Linked DNA regions of Homo sapiens: region 1 is linked to region 2. Evidence: promoter capture Hi-C in human tissues and cell types (Jung and others, 2019). All regions are on one chromosome and are shown on one strand. The core of a region is centred on a gene start or on the middle of the fragment in contact, and the rest is flanking DNA. Distances in the headings are between cores, read along the strand shown. Region 1 overlaps CFAP418-AS1 (CFAP418 antisense RNA 1). Region 2 holds the start of ESRP1 (epithelial splicing regulatory protein 1).

Region 1 (6,809 bases), core at 207-2,706, 1.1 Mb before region 2:
GAAGTAAAAACTATAGGCTTTGGAGTCAGACTCAGTTTGGATTTTAGCTCTCCCTAGCTGTGGGAACTTGATCAAGATCCCTCACTTGCATAAACCCATTTTTTTTCACTTGTAAAATAGAGAAAATAATGTAACCTATTTATTGGTGGCTGTGAGTGACACTTTAGTTAGTGTAAAGTACATAATCATTTAGCATGGCATCTAGCAATGCAGTGAGCACTCAATAAGCATTACTATTCTTTTTATTATGATTATTATAACCACACTATGGACTACTATGCAGGTATTAAAAATGATAAAATAGCTTAACTTATGCTGGCATAGAGAGATGTCCATAACCATACAACACATCACCAATGAATGTTCTCTTTCTTTTTTTTTTTTTTTTGAGACGGAGTCTCGCTCTGTCGCCCAGGCCGGACTGCGGACTGCAGTGGCGCAATCTCGGCTCAGTGCAAGCTCCGCTTCCCGGGTTCACGCCATTCTCCTGCCTCAGCCTCCCGAGTAGCTGGGACTACAGGCGCCCGCCACCGCGCCCGGCTAATTTTTTTGTATTTTTAGTAGAGACGGGGTTTCACCTTGTTAGCCAGGATGGTCTCGATCTCCTGACCTCATGATCCACCCGCCTCGGCCTCCCAAAGTGCTGGGATTACAGGCGTGAGCCACCGCGCCCGGCCGAATGTTCTCTTTCTTAGGAATGCTCATTCTCATGCCCAACCCTGCTTGACTGCAAATTCTGTGAGGGTGTATGCACCAATCCTATCTTATTCTCCATGGTATCGCCGGCACCTAGAAAAATACCAAGCCATTCCATAATATTTTATTGAATGAGCAGATGTATACATGAGAGCATTACTTGTTTATCTGTATATTAAAAAGTCAGAAGCAATTACAACAACTGCTGACAGTACTTTCCTCTGAGGAGTAAAATTAGGAAAGTAGATTTTCATCCACTTTTATCTTTCTCTATTGTTTGGAATTCTTACATTAAGTAACGACAAAAGATATTCTCATGTCCAGATGATGAAAACGTAACTGAAGCTATAAGCACAACCATGTTTTTTTCTTGTAAATTTGTTTGAGTTCATTGTAGATTCTGGATATTAGCCCTTTGTCAGATGAGTAGGTTGTGAAAATTTTCTCCCATTTGGTAGGTTGCCTGTTCACTCTGATGGTAGTTTCTTTTGCTATGCAGAAGCTCTTTAGTTTCATTAGATCCCATTTGTCAATTTTGGCTTTTGTTGCCATTGCTTTTGGTATTTGAGACATGAAGTCCTTGCCCATGCCTATGTCTTGAATGGTAATGCCTAGGTTTTCTTCTAGGGTTTTTATGGTTTTAGGTCTAACGTTTAAGTCTTTAATCCAACTTGAATTAATTTTTGTATAAGGTGTAAGGAAGGGATCCAGTTTCAGCTTTCTACATATGGCTAGCCAGTTTTCCCAGCACCATTTATTGAACAGGGAATCCTTTCCCCATTGCTTGTTTTTCTCAGGTTTGTCAAAGATCAGATAGTTGTAGATATGCGGCGTTATTTCTGAGGGCTCTGTTCTGTTTCATTGATCTATATCTCTGTTTTGGTACCAGTATCATGCTGTTTTGGTTACTGTAGACTTGTAGTATAGTTTGAAGTCAGGTAGCGTGATTTACAAGAAAAAAACAAACTTTACAAGAAAAAAACAAACAACCCCATCAAAAAATGGGCAAAGGATATGAACAGACACTTCTCAAAAGAAGACATTTATGCAGCCAACAGACACATGAAAAAATGCTCATCATCACTGGCCATCAGAGAAATGCAAATCAAAACCACAATGAGATACCATCTCACACCAGTTAGAATGGCAATCATTAAAGTCAGGAAACAACAGGTGCTGGAGAGGATGTGGAGAAATAGGAACACTTTTACACTGTTGGTGGGACTGTAAACTAGTTCAACCATTGTGGAAGTCAGTGTGGCGATTCCTCAGGGATCTTGAACTAGAAATACCATTTGACCCAGCCATCCCATTACTGGGTATATACCGAAAGGACTATAAACCATGCTGCTATAAAGACACATGCACACATATGTTTATTGCGGCACTATTCACAATAGCAAAGACTTGGAAGCAACCCAAATGTCCAACAATGCTAGACTGGATTAAGAAAATGTGGCACATATACACCATGGAATACTATGCAGCCATAAAGAAGGATGAGTTCATGTCCTTTGTAGGGACATGGATGAAATTGGAAATCATCATTCTCAGTAAACTATCACAAGGACAAAAAACCAAACACCGCATGTTCTCACTCATAGATGGGAATTGAACAATGAGAACACATGGACACAGGAAGGGGAACATCACACTCTGGGGACTGTTGTGGGGTGGGGGGAGGGGGGAGGGATAGCATTAGGAGATATACCTAATGCTAAATGACGAGTTAATGGGTGCAGCACACCAGCATGGCACATGTATACATATGTAACTAACCGGCACATTGTGCACATGTACCCTAAAACTTAAAATATAATAATAATTAATAGAAAAGCAAAAAAAAAAGCACAACTATGTAAAAACGTGTATGCCTACAAACAGGAAATAGGAAGAAATGGGAGATGTAAAAATGAATGATGTTTTCAGCTAGCATTATTGTATTTTCTTTCTTCAATGCCTTTGTTTTTACCCTAATGGTGTAGTTTTAAAATATTTTAAGTAGATTATATTCAAATATTGTAAGAAATAAACACTCAAAGAGAGATGAATTCATTTTCTATTATTTTACTGTAAGAAAATTCACTATTGGGTTTAAAATCAGAAATAACTTTATTATAAAAGTTATAGAAGTTTCTTATATAAATTTTGGAAAATATAGAAAATTAATTTTTAAAAACATAGAAAATACATTAAACCTAGAAAATATCTTACCACTTAAAGATAATCTCTCAAAGAAAATGCTAACATAATGTTATCTAGACAAAGTCAAAATTGAAATGCAGAGAGCATGTAATCACAGAATTTAGTTCAAAGACTGGAGAAATCTTATAAAGTTAACTAAAATCATGTCAGATCTACCACAGAGAAATATAGTGCACTGATCTCTTTTCAAACTGATATTAATTGGCTTGTTGCTACAAGGGGGCTAAATTAGAAGCTTCCTGAATACAGGAACTCTGTGTATCCTTTTGCTCCTTTTTTTTTTAAACTCCAGTGCTAATTACAGAGACTGGCTCATTGTGTCAGTCAATAATAACTGTCAACTTATTTTTAAATAAATGAATCATCTTTTGAAATGTAAGAAATAAATTTAAAAGGAGGGACAGAGAGAGATTGGAGCAAAAAAGAAGGAAGGGGAGGGGAGGTAAGGGAAAGGAAGAAGGAAGGAGGGAGAGAGGGAAGGAGGGAGGTAGGGAAGGAGGGAAGGGAGAGAGGGAGGCAAGGGAGAGAATGGAGAAAAGAAGAATAAAAGGAAGAAAGGAACTATTAGAGAGTCTGAAAGAAAATGGAGAGATGGAATGAGTCAGAAGTTGCCCTTTCTATCTTTCTATTTCTCCCTTCTGTGCTTACAGCAGTTACACAAGTCATGCACACTGGGTCTTTTTTCAGAGGCTGACTTTGGTAGCAGCTATGGCAACACTTTCAGCATTTATTAGCTTCTGGAAAAAAAGGATGAGACTTGAGAGAGCCTATAACAACATTTATTCTGGACCTCAGTCTAATCTGAAGCTACACATCTGGGAAGGTAGGAAGTCAAAAGGCCCAATTCAGCCTTTCAGTTGTGGCAAAGGGCAGAAGCTTCTTTACAAATAATATGAGCAAAAAAGACAATAGCTAGTTCAACTTGACACCCTATTTGTTAGCAGTTAAGTAAAACACAGAGATAAATCATGCCCAGAGTGAAGAAGAATAAGCAGCAGGTTACTTGGCATAAATCTAATTATGCATTCTAAAAAGAGTCTTACTTTTTATTCTGTTTGGAAGATGGGAGCAGGAGGTGAAGGAGAAGAGGACAGGAAAATAACGAGCTATACTTCTTTGGGGCTTTTAGTTCTTTGTCCATTTTGATCTCTCTTGAAGATGCTTGTCAAATACATTTTGGAAGGGCAACAGCAAAATTATGAAGCATTTTTAAAGGAAGATTGGTTCTTAAATCCAGCAGGGATAGAAGAATACATACTTTCTTGTCAAGCTATACACTCATTCTTGAGAGGAAAGGCCTGAAAGAACAATAGGGGTGTGTGTGTGTGTGTGTGTGTGTGTGTGTGTGTCTATATGTATATCTGAGACATGAAGAGTAGGTGAGGTTTCTCAAAGGATTGGAATAAAATCAGGGTGTAGATTAGAGATTATCATGATAATTCTTCAGGATAAATTCAAATTCCTTCACAGTCTGTCTCTTGCTTGCTTATACAGGCTCATCCTCTATTTTCCATCTCTATGCATTTATACTGACCTTCTCACTTCCCTCCTAAGAAACCGTGTTCATTCCTGCTTTACATTTTTAAACATGCTGCTCCTTCTGTGTGACATGTTCTTCCAATTTCTGTGTATCTCTCTAAGCTCCATTTATAAAACACTTTTGTTATTGTCACCTTCCCCAAAACCCTCAAGTAGGGTGAACTGCCGACTTGGTTGCTTCCTCCTCTGTGATTTTACAGATCTTTGTTCAGGTGTCTACCACAGAGTTTTATCATCTGTCCCTCTCTATATATGGAGACTTTTTTTTTTTTTTTTGAGATGGTGTCTCACTCTGTTGCCCAGGCTGGAGTGCAATGGCATGATCTCAGCTCACTGCAAACTCCACCTCCCGGGTTCAGCGATTCTCCTGCCTCAGCCTCCCGAGTAGCTGGGACTACAGGCACCTGCCACCACGCCTGGCTAATTTTTATATTTTTAATAGAGACAGGGTTTCACCATGTTGGCCAGGATGGTCTCAATCTCTTGACCTCATGATCCATCCGACTTGGCCTCCCAAAGTCTTGGGATTACAGGCATGAGCCACCGCGCCGGCCTATGTATGTAGATTTCTTTACCAGCAGACCTTGAAATTCTCAAGGCCACCAGTGATAATCTTATTTAATCCCCAATATCTAGGTAATGTCTGGCATAATGGATACACTTACTAGAGATATGTTACATAAACCACATTGAGGAGCATTCAGATTCTGACCATTCCAAGGAAGATGGCTTCATGCAACCTTAGCTCCTGAGATGAAGGAGTGAGCCTGGGAGAAACGCCCTGGCATGTCCGACATCTGGCAGAATGACCACGAAAACACCGAGGAAGAAAGCATAAAAAAATCAAACAGACGGCAGGCCTTGGCATGGGCTATTTGCACTCTCTACAGATTACAACTGGGGGCAGAGCATTAACAGGACTTGATGGGCAGCAGAGTCCAATAAATGAGAGAGCATAGACCATGGGTTCAGCCTGGCCCCTTGATCTCATGTGAAATAACATGCTTGGGCAGAATCACACTTGATTGTGATCTTGGGGAAATAACTGAAATCTTTGTGCCCACTTTCTCAACTATAAAATGTGTCTATTGTGAGGATGAAATACATTCGTAGGTGTAAATACTAATGGTAGTTCCTGGCATGGAAATAGACAGTTTCATAACTCACTGCACCAGTGAAATTCTAAAATCCAAGTGGCCAAGGTAGGAGCAGAATCCAGCTAAGGCACAACGTTCAACAACTCACTCCCAACCCAGATCCCCTCTGCTTATTTTCTTTGGGATGATATGGACCTAAGCTGTGTGAAAATTCAACTTTTAAAGGTGAATCTATGTTTGGGGCCTAAAGAATAAAAAAGCTATATAGAAAATGAAACAAGTAACATGACCTGCCAGTACTTTGTGGAACTTACTGAGTGTTGTAAGCATAGAATAAACTGTGGGCGTGTGTTACGTGCCTAAGAGGCTTCCATGCTCCAGATGATATTGCTGAGGAAAATGGGGGTGTATACTTCCCAGTCAATAGGAAAATTGCTCTTGTTTCCCCTGGTACACAAATTGAACTCAGGGCAGCCAAGGCTGACATATTGAATGAGGTTCTTCACTACTTCAGAACAGGTTTGTGTTTACACTTCATTGTGTGATTTTTAATGGTTTGAAATGACACAGGGGAAGTTACATAATGTTTATGGAGACACGTGCTGGAAAATAAACCAGGAGCCACAATGGTAGTGTTAGAGGTAGCTCCTGAGTAATCATTCTCATTTATTTACAAAGTGTGTTTTAAATAACAAGCAAGTAATTAGAAGAGTTCTAGTTCTGTTCATGGCAGAGTAGCTTGTATTGGACTAGCCCTCTTGCCAATAACAACTATAAATTCTGAATTTGAAGCCTTGGAAGGCACTGGAGAGAACGTAAAATCAGGAGTACACTGGATGAGACTTGCTGTGAAAGACAATATACAAATTAGCTGAGATTCACATTTATCCAACTTTTCCCCTAAGGGCATGCCCTAAGTTGCATGGAAGTAAGGGATAGAGCTCAGACCAAAAGCATCAGTCTGACTGCACTGGGGAGTCAGAGATTGGATCTTGAGCTGCCAGCACAGCTAGGAATTAAATGATGGTTGGGGGAGGTATTCCAGAAAGGAGTTAGTCATGTATGAAGGAGCACATTTCTACATAAAAATTCTTCTTAAATATTTGGCTGACTCTAAACCTATGAATGCCAGGGTAAGCCTCCAAGGAGAAGTCAATCAAATGCACAGCTGGAAGCAAAGAATTGAGCAGAGATGTCAGTAGGCTAAGTGCTGGGGAGACAGAGTTTGGAGTTCAAGTCCTACCAGGTTAGAGTGAATTAGTAAACAGCTAA
Region 2 (6,751 bases), core at 2,359-4,858:
CATTAATTGTTTTAGTTTCTGTATTTAATCAAAATTCTAATAGCTGTGGCTGAGGAAAAAGTCTTAATTTTTCTCCAGATGTTTTCCTACACCCAAAGCACTCCACCTAAATAATGAAAACAGCTATTTTCCTCTGGCCCAACAGGGAAAAGATTAAGTCTTGTCCTTCCGTCATGTGAGTTTGGGAGTAAAAAAGTAATCCTTACATATTACTATTTCTGGTAAGGATGTAGCGACTAGTCTAGCATTTAATTTTTTAAAAAAATTCTTCCCCTTTTGTCAAATAATTACTAAGACTCGTATAAAAGGAATGATTTTCTGAAGACATAACAACTTGAGTTACTCCTTCAAACTTTTTGAATTGTCATAATATATTAAACGAAATAAAATCTGCACTTACTTGCCTGGGTCGTCATTTGTCAGTCTACATCTTTCATTGCAAGCCTTGCCTTATACAGGTACCTAAATATATTCTACTTCCATCTTTTCAAGCTCGGTGCCTGCCTACCACAATAAAAAGTTACAGCTCAAACTAATTTAAGTTGTTAAGAGACAGTGTATTAACAATGATTGGCTACACTGGGTGGGTTGTCTCTGCTGTTCCTTTTCCCACAGCCCCTCAGTATTTATCCCAGGGAGAGAAATCACATTTTACCTATAGTAAGACTGTATTTCTCTCACTCTGTAATCCTCTCTCTGTCAGAAAAATGAGCAAAGGTAAAAGATGAGGCTGACCCTTTTGTTTTGATGCAAGAATGTTTTGAACATTGACTTAAAATCAGACAAAGTGAAGAGTGCTACGATTGTGGTTTCACTAGATATAAGGTTATCTTATTTAAGTAGCCTTTTTAATGAAATGATTAGAAATACAACTTTAAATGTTTAATTCTTTTTTCCTTCCTTTCTAGGATATAGCATTTCCAACACAAATGAGGATATTATGACATACTAAAGAATAGTTCTTTCCTCTCTTTGTAGTTATTTTAAATGTCAAAAATTCACACTCTGTATTAGCTTCGGAAAAGGGAAGTGTCATGCATCTTGAAAATTGGACGTAAACAAAGAGACTATTTTAAGTCACCAAAGAGTATCTTTGTATATACATAACACCAAATTTACCATTTTAATAATTTTTAAGAGTATGGTTCAGTAAAACATTAAGTACATTAACATATTTTGCAACCATAAACACCATCCATTTCCAGAGCTTTTTCATCTTCCCAAACTGAAATTCTGTACTCATTAAATAACTCCCTATATGCATCTTTTTAAGAACAGAGAAACTTGAATAAACCAAAAATTTTTAAAAACCTCCAGTCACCCCAAAGCTCCAACCATTTTTTTCCCAGAAGCCAGCACTCTTACCTTCTTGGAAGCCTCAGGATGCAGGATTTGCCTGACATGAAGCTGCCCATCAGTACAGAGACAGAAGGAAGTCCCTACTCCAATATTCAGTTCATTGCTCACTGACTGGTTAAACTGCAAGAACAAGATACACATAGGGATGCAACTGATGCACGATTTACAAACTCTGCAAAGTAGCTCCCCTTGGTGATAGCCAGAGAAAACCGCAATAAGGGCCCTGATGGGTGACACCGGTGCTGGGGCAACCTTGGACAGACTCCTTTCCCACGAACCGTCTAGCTTCCTCGAGGTAGGGAAGCTTTCCAATCAATCCGCAGTTCGCGCCCAGGAGAAACTTGTCAATGCATTCTCCCTTCTGTTTTTACAAAAAAAATTCATTCAAGACTTAAGTCAGATGTCTCATTTCATCAGCAGGTTGCCTGCAGATTACATCATTCCCTAGTGTTACTTTTTATATGTTTGGATGTGCCAGGCTTAAGAAAGATGCCAGCTTCTAATAAACAAATACGGGTATTGGGTATACAGATCTGGAAAGTCTTGGATGAATACACCCCAGGAAGGATAGCTTTCTCCTATAACTCGAAGCTCGTGTGCTAGGGCAGAGGTCGTGAGAACGCAGAGCATTCATCTGTGCACAGGTGTTTAGCGCCCCGCCCTACCCGATCCGGCACCCGTCAGCACCCCGGAACAGCCGGTTTTTAGGTCACCTCAGTCCTAATAAGGGGATTCCATCAGTTCCGCAGTGACACAACGGGCAGCCTTGCACGTTCGGACCTGAAAAACCTCCCTGGCAGTGGGACCAAGGCCACTAAAGAAATAATGACGGACCGAGCCTTTCGTTGGGAGTTCAGAAGCCTGAAACCAGGCAGGCACCTTCAGGTTCCAACCCACAGTGCTACTTCTTGCACACCCGCCGGGCCCACCTGCACGTCTACGCCACAGCGCCCCCTGCCCGAAGGCTGTGGGCCCAAACCCCGCAGGGGAGCGGCGCGTCTGGGGTCTGGACCTGGAGATGGGGGCGCTAGGATTCAAACTCCGCACGTCAATCAATTGGCAAAATGGAGCTGACTCTCCGGCTCCAGTAACTACTCAGGAAGCAACTCGAAAACTAGTGAATGTCGGTCCCAAACCCTGGGGGCTGGGAGATGAAGAGAAGCAGCGACCCCCGCCCAAACGGTGCGCCCCGGCCCTCAGGCTGGGCTCCCACCCACGCGGCCGGGCAGGCGTCTCGCCACCCTGCTCCGGGAACACGCGTGGGCCGCCCTGAGAGGGCGTAGGGTGCGGTGGGGTTGGGCCCAGGCTGGGGTGGGTGGCGTGACCCGGGGTTGTCACCTGTCGGAGGGCTTGGTCCAGCTGCGACGCCGAGGACAGGCTTTCGACGTCTATTTTAGTTTCTTCTTTGCAGTCCTCCGTCAGTTCCAACTGATCCGGTCTAACTAGCACTTCGTGCAACTGTCCCACCTCCGAAGGTAGAGAAGCACGGGTCAGTTTCCCCCAATTTCGGAGCCTCTTTCTGCACCCTCCTCCCTCGCTCCCCTGCTGGGGCGGCCCGCGCCTCTCTTGGGGTCCGGACGCAGAATCAAAGCTCTCGACTCGCCATCGGTTCCGGTGCGTTCCTGCCCCCCGCCCCACCCCCCACCCGATAGGTCGGAAAAGCCCTGGAAGTGGACCCCGGGGCCTCCGAGACCCCACCTCGTCTCGGCGGAGCGTCCCCCGACGGGCAAAGAACCCGGCTCGGTAGCGCCGGCCTCTCCACCTGAGCTAAGTTGCGGAGGACTGAAATGGCTCCAAGGCAGTTGGCCAATAAGTTTGGTTTTACTCTAGCTTCCCTAGGCCTCGGGTCCAGACTCACAAGTGGGCAAACAAGAGCACTTATTTACTTACCTCCACCCCCCTCCCCGCCCAAACCTCTACCACAAACTTCTTGCCCCATTCCTTGCATTTAGACGAAAATGTGGAGAAATACCTTCTTGTTGGCCAGATCCACGACTTTCCAGAACAGCAGGATCAACTCCTTCTCATCCGAGCCTAGCTTGGCCCCGGTGGCCCCAGCAGTGATCCCAAAAAGCACCACCAAGTAATCCGGAGAGGCCGTCATGACGATAGGTGGGGAGGGGGAGAGGGGGGGTCGGGAGGCGGTAAGGTGGTGTGGAAGTGAGAACGAAAAAACCTGTGCTAAACCCTCTTCTAAGAGAAAAAGAAAGAGCGCCCACCCCCCTTCCTTGCTACTGCTAGTGCAAAAGGCGGTAACCAACCACCCAAGCCCACACCTGGTCGGTGCTCCACGCCCAGGGCAGGAAGGGGGGTGGGAAGGAGGGCGCAGGAGGCCTGCCCTTTTTGTATTCAGTTGCCCGGGCGTCTATGCAAAAAGCCTGGAGCAAGGCTGCCCCCCCCGGGAGGCACGCAATGGCTGAAAGCTTTTCTGTTTTGGGATGTGGCTTTACCTGCCCGCCCCTTCCCCCTCCCCCACGTGGTGCAGGTAAGAGACACCTGGCGGCGCCGGCCCATTGGCTCCTTCAAACCACGACGTGGCAGCGGTGGGGGAGGAGGCCGCTTCGGGAGGGGGAGGAAGGGGCGGGAGACAATGGCTGGATGAATGGAGAGGCGAGGGCAGGGGAGGAGGAGGGGGAGACGTGAGGGGCAGGGAAGAGGCGGTTGACACCCAGAGGGTAGACGAGGCCAGACGGGGAAAGGGCTCAGAGAGGTAAAGGGCTCGGAGTCGCTGGGGGGAGGGGTTCCCACTGGAGGTAACTGAGAGGTGCAGGGGGGCTCGGAGAATACCGGCTGCAGGGAACGAAGCCGAAGGTTCTGAACGGTCAAGCGAAAAGGCCAGGTGCAGGGAGGCGAAAGGAGGCCAGAGGTGAGGCCCGGGGCGCGGAGCTGCCCAGGGCGCGGCGCAGGCGGAGGACGAACTGCTGAGGGAGGGACCTGCCAACCGCAGCCAGGAGGTGGCGGGGGCAACTGCAGATCCCCGGAAAAGCAGCTCCTGAGCCAACACAACTTTCAGTGCAAACAGCAGGAGAAATCCTGCGAGCCCCCCCTTCTCCGGGCCGGAGCCCGGGTGCACGCTCGTCCCAAACCCGCCGCGCTGCCCACCTTCCGGAGAGGAACCCCGCGCGCGGCAGAGCCGGACGCCAGGGGCTGGACGCCCAACCACCTAGTCACTCCCCAGGACGCAGTTATCGCGCGCAAAGCAGCTGGGGGACCCCGCAAGGAAACTCAGGCACAATGGAGCCCGCTTCTTTTTCTGTCAACTCTGAATGCTATGTCTGGTTTGGTCCTGGCTGCTAGTTCGAAGCTGGAACATCCTCCAGAGCTGGGGCCCATTTCCTTTTATTTGCCTTGGGCCCCAAATGAAAAGCATCTATCCGCATGCCTAATAAAAATTTTCTTAAATCGGGCCACGCAGGCTTTTTCCCAGGTTCTGCGCCCTGACCCCATTCCCTCTGCTCATGCTTTTGGCATTGTATTGGAGTGTGTTGACTTGACCAAGCTCCCAAACAACCTCCCTGCTCCACCTCAGCTTGGTCTGCCCAGAGGCTCGTACCCCAACCATCACCCCCCAGCCACCAGATCGGTGGCAGTATGTTGTTGGGTCTTGTTGACATTTTAGAGAGAAAAGCGCCAGAGGTGAAGTTTTCTCGGGTTTTATATCTCAAAGCGATTTGTTCTTGGGAACAGAATTCTGTCTGAAGTATTAATAATTCGGCTCTAGGTGTCCAGCCCCGTTCATATTCATGATGTGAAACGGGCAACCATGCACCTATCCCTGCAGAACCCACTCCGGGTACAAATCCGGTAACCTTTCAAGACGCGTGTCAAGGGAAGCTGGAGACCTGGCTTTCCCAGTGGGGGTTCAGCTCCCGGGAGGGGGGAGAGGAGCCCGAGGCCCGCGCCGTCTCGTTTCCTGGTAGGAGAAGGTGCAGGCGGAGGCGGGGCCTCCCGTGATACAGGTGGCAGCTCTCGTCCCCTGAGAGCGGGCGAAGGCCAGGGTCCCACACTCGCAGCGCTGCGACGGCGCTCGGGACCTCCCTCGTCCACTGCTTGAGTTCCAGAGGTGGGTGCTTCCCTGTCCTGAACTTCAGAGTGCGGAGTCATAAATGGGTTCCGGCTGGCTTACTGCAGTAGCCTCGCTCCTCCCCAGCCCCGGTAACTCCGAGCTACCCGTCCAGGCCCTCGGGCGTCGCGGGGGCAGGGACTGGGCGCGGAACGAGGCAGGGAGGGACCTGGAAAAACCACCCAGATTGCATTGCAGTGGGCGAGGCCGCCTGGAGGAGCCGGTTCCCCCTAACCACCTCCCCGTGGGGCTCTCGGTGCGCGGTTCCCAGGTGCTCAGCTCTGCTGGGCCCAGGAGGTGCCGCCTCACAGGGACGCGGAACCCCGTGCGTGGCCCCCGCCGGGTGGAACAGATAGCGCGGGGCGGTCCGGAGGCTCGTCGCCAAGCAGGTGACTCTTGCTGAAAAAGTGGTTGGAACACTTGAGGAAACCCGGCCCCGCCTGTTCTTTCTAGGTCTTTGGAGTTTGGATTAATCATTTGTGTAGCCCGTTTGGATAAACCGAAGACTTTATTAAATCAGCGCGTTTAACAGGAATTCCGCAGTAGTATCCACATTAGAATCTTGAGTCTTGGAGTTGAACATATTCACACAGACTTGCCTTCTTCCTGTTTAGTTTATGCCTTGTGTTCCGTTATTGGAACGCTAAGCTTGTGGGAGTTGTTTACATCCTACTGCTCAAGGTCATCGCTAAGGTGTGATTTTTCACAAAAAGAATTTGCAACCTCCGGCATGAATGACTTAAGGGAAGTCTAATCCCGGTTTCTGATTTTTTTTTTTTTTTTAATTTAAAAGTTAATCTTTCTGGGCCGGGCGCGGTGGCTCACGCCTGTAATCCCAGCACTTTGGGAGGCCGAGGCGGATCACGAGGTCAGGAGTTCGAGACCAGCCTGACCAACATGGTGAAACCCCGTCTCTACTAAAAACACAAAAATTAGCCGGGCGGGGTGGCGCGCACCTGTAATCCCAGCTGCTCGGGAGGCTGAGGCAGGAGAATCGCTTGAACCTGGGAGGCGGGGGGTTGCAGTGAGCCGAGATCTGGCCATTGCACTCCAGCGTGGGCAACAGAGTGAGACTCCATCTCAAAAAAAAAGGTTAATCTTTCCAACTAGATTTTCAAGGATGAGGATTTTGTTGTTGTTGTTGTTGTTGTTCTCAAATGTATTCCCAGGGCTTGGAACAGAGCCTGACATATACTAGGCACTCAACAAATATTTGTTGAATGATTGTAATGAGTAACACCCATTTTTGCAGATCTTTGTCTTCTGAGCCTAGGGCATAGGTCATCACTGCAGGGGTGAGATTGTCAAAATGGGAGTCTACAGGTAATT

The links. The method cuts DNA at HindIII sites, captures the fragments that hold promoters and counts their contacts. A contact is called where the count stands out against the background at its distance.
Region 1: a contact is called between a fragment that was not itself captured here and the fragment with the promoter of ESRP1 in region 2, in 1 of the 25 tissues and cell types used here (lymphoblastoid cells).

What each region holds. Positions count from the first base shown.
Region 1 is chr8:95,712,150-95,718,958 of GRCh38, reverse strand. All of the region lies in intron 3 of CFAP418-AS1 (CFAP418 antisense RNA 1), which reads right to left. Among named protein-coding and RNA genes, the nearest start is that of GDF6, 450 kb to the left of the region's middle. The HindIII fragment of the contact is 4,002 bases long and covers 1-3,457 here.
Region 2 is chr8:94,638,031-94,644,781 of GRCh38, reverse strand. ESRP1 (epithelial splicing regulatory protein 1) reads right to left here and starts at 3,608. Exons shown (of 16, transcript NM_017697.4): 1 at 3,332-3,608; 2 at 2,698-2,826; 3 at 1,366-1,479. The coding sequence starts at 3,463. It overlaps LINC02894 (long intergenic non-protein coding RNA 2894), which reads left to right and starts at 5,315. Exons shown (of 1, transcript NR_034034.1): 1 at 5,315-6,751. RefSeq lists an enhancer at 2,181-2,270. The HindIII fragment of the contact is 5,400 bases long and covers 1-4,926 here.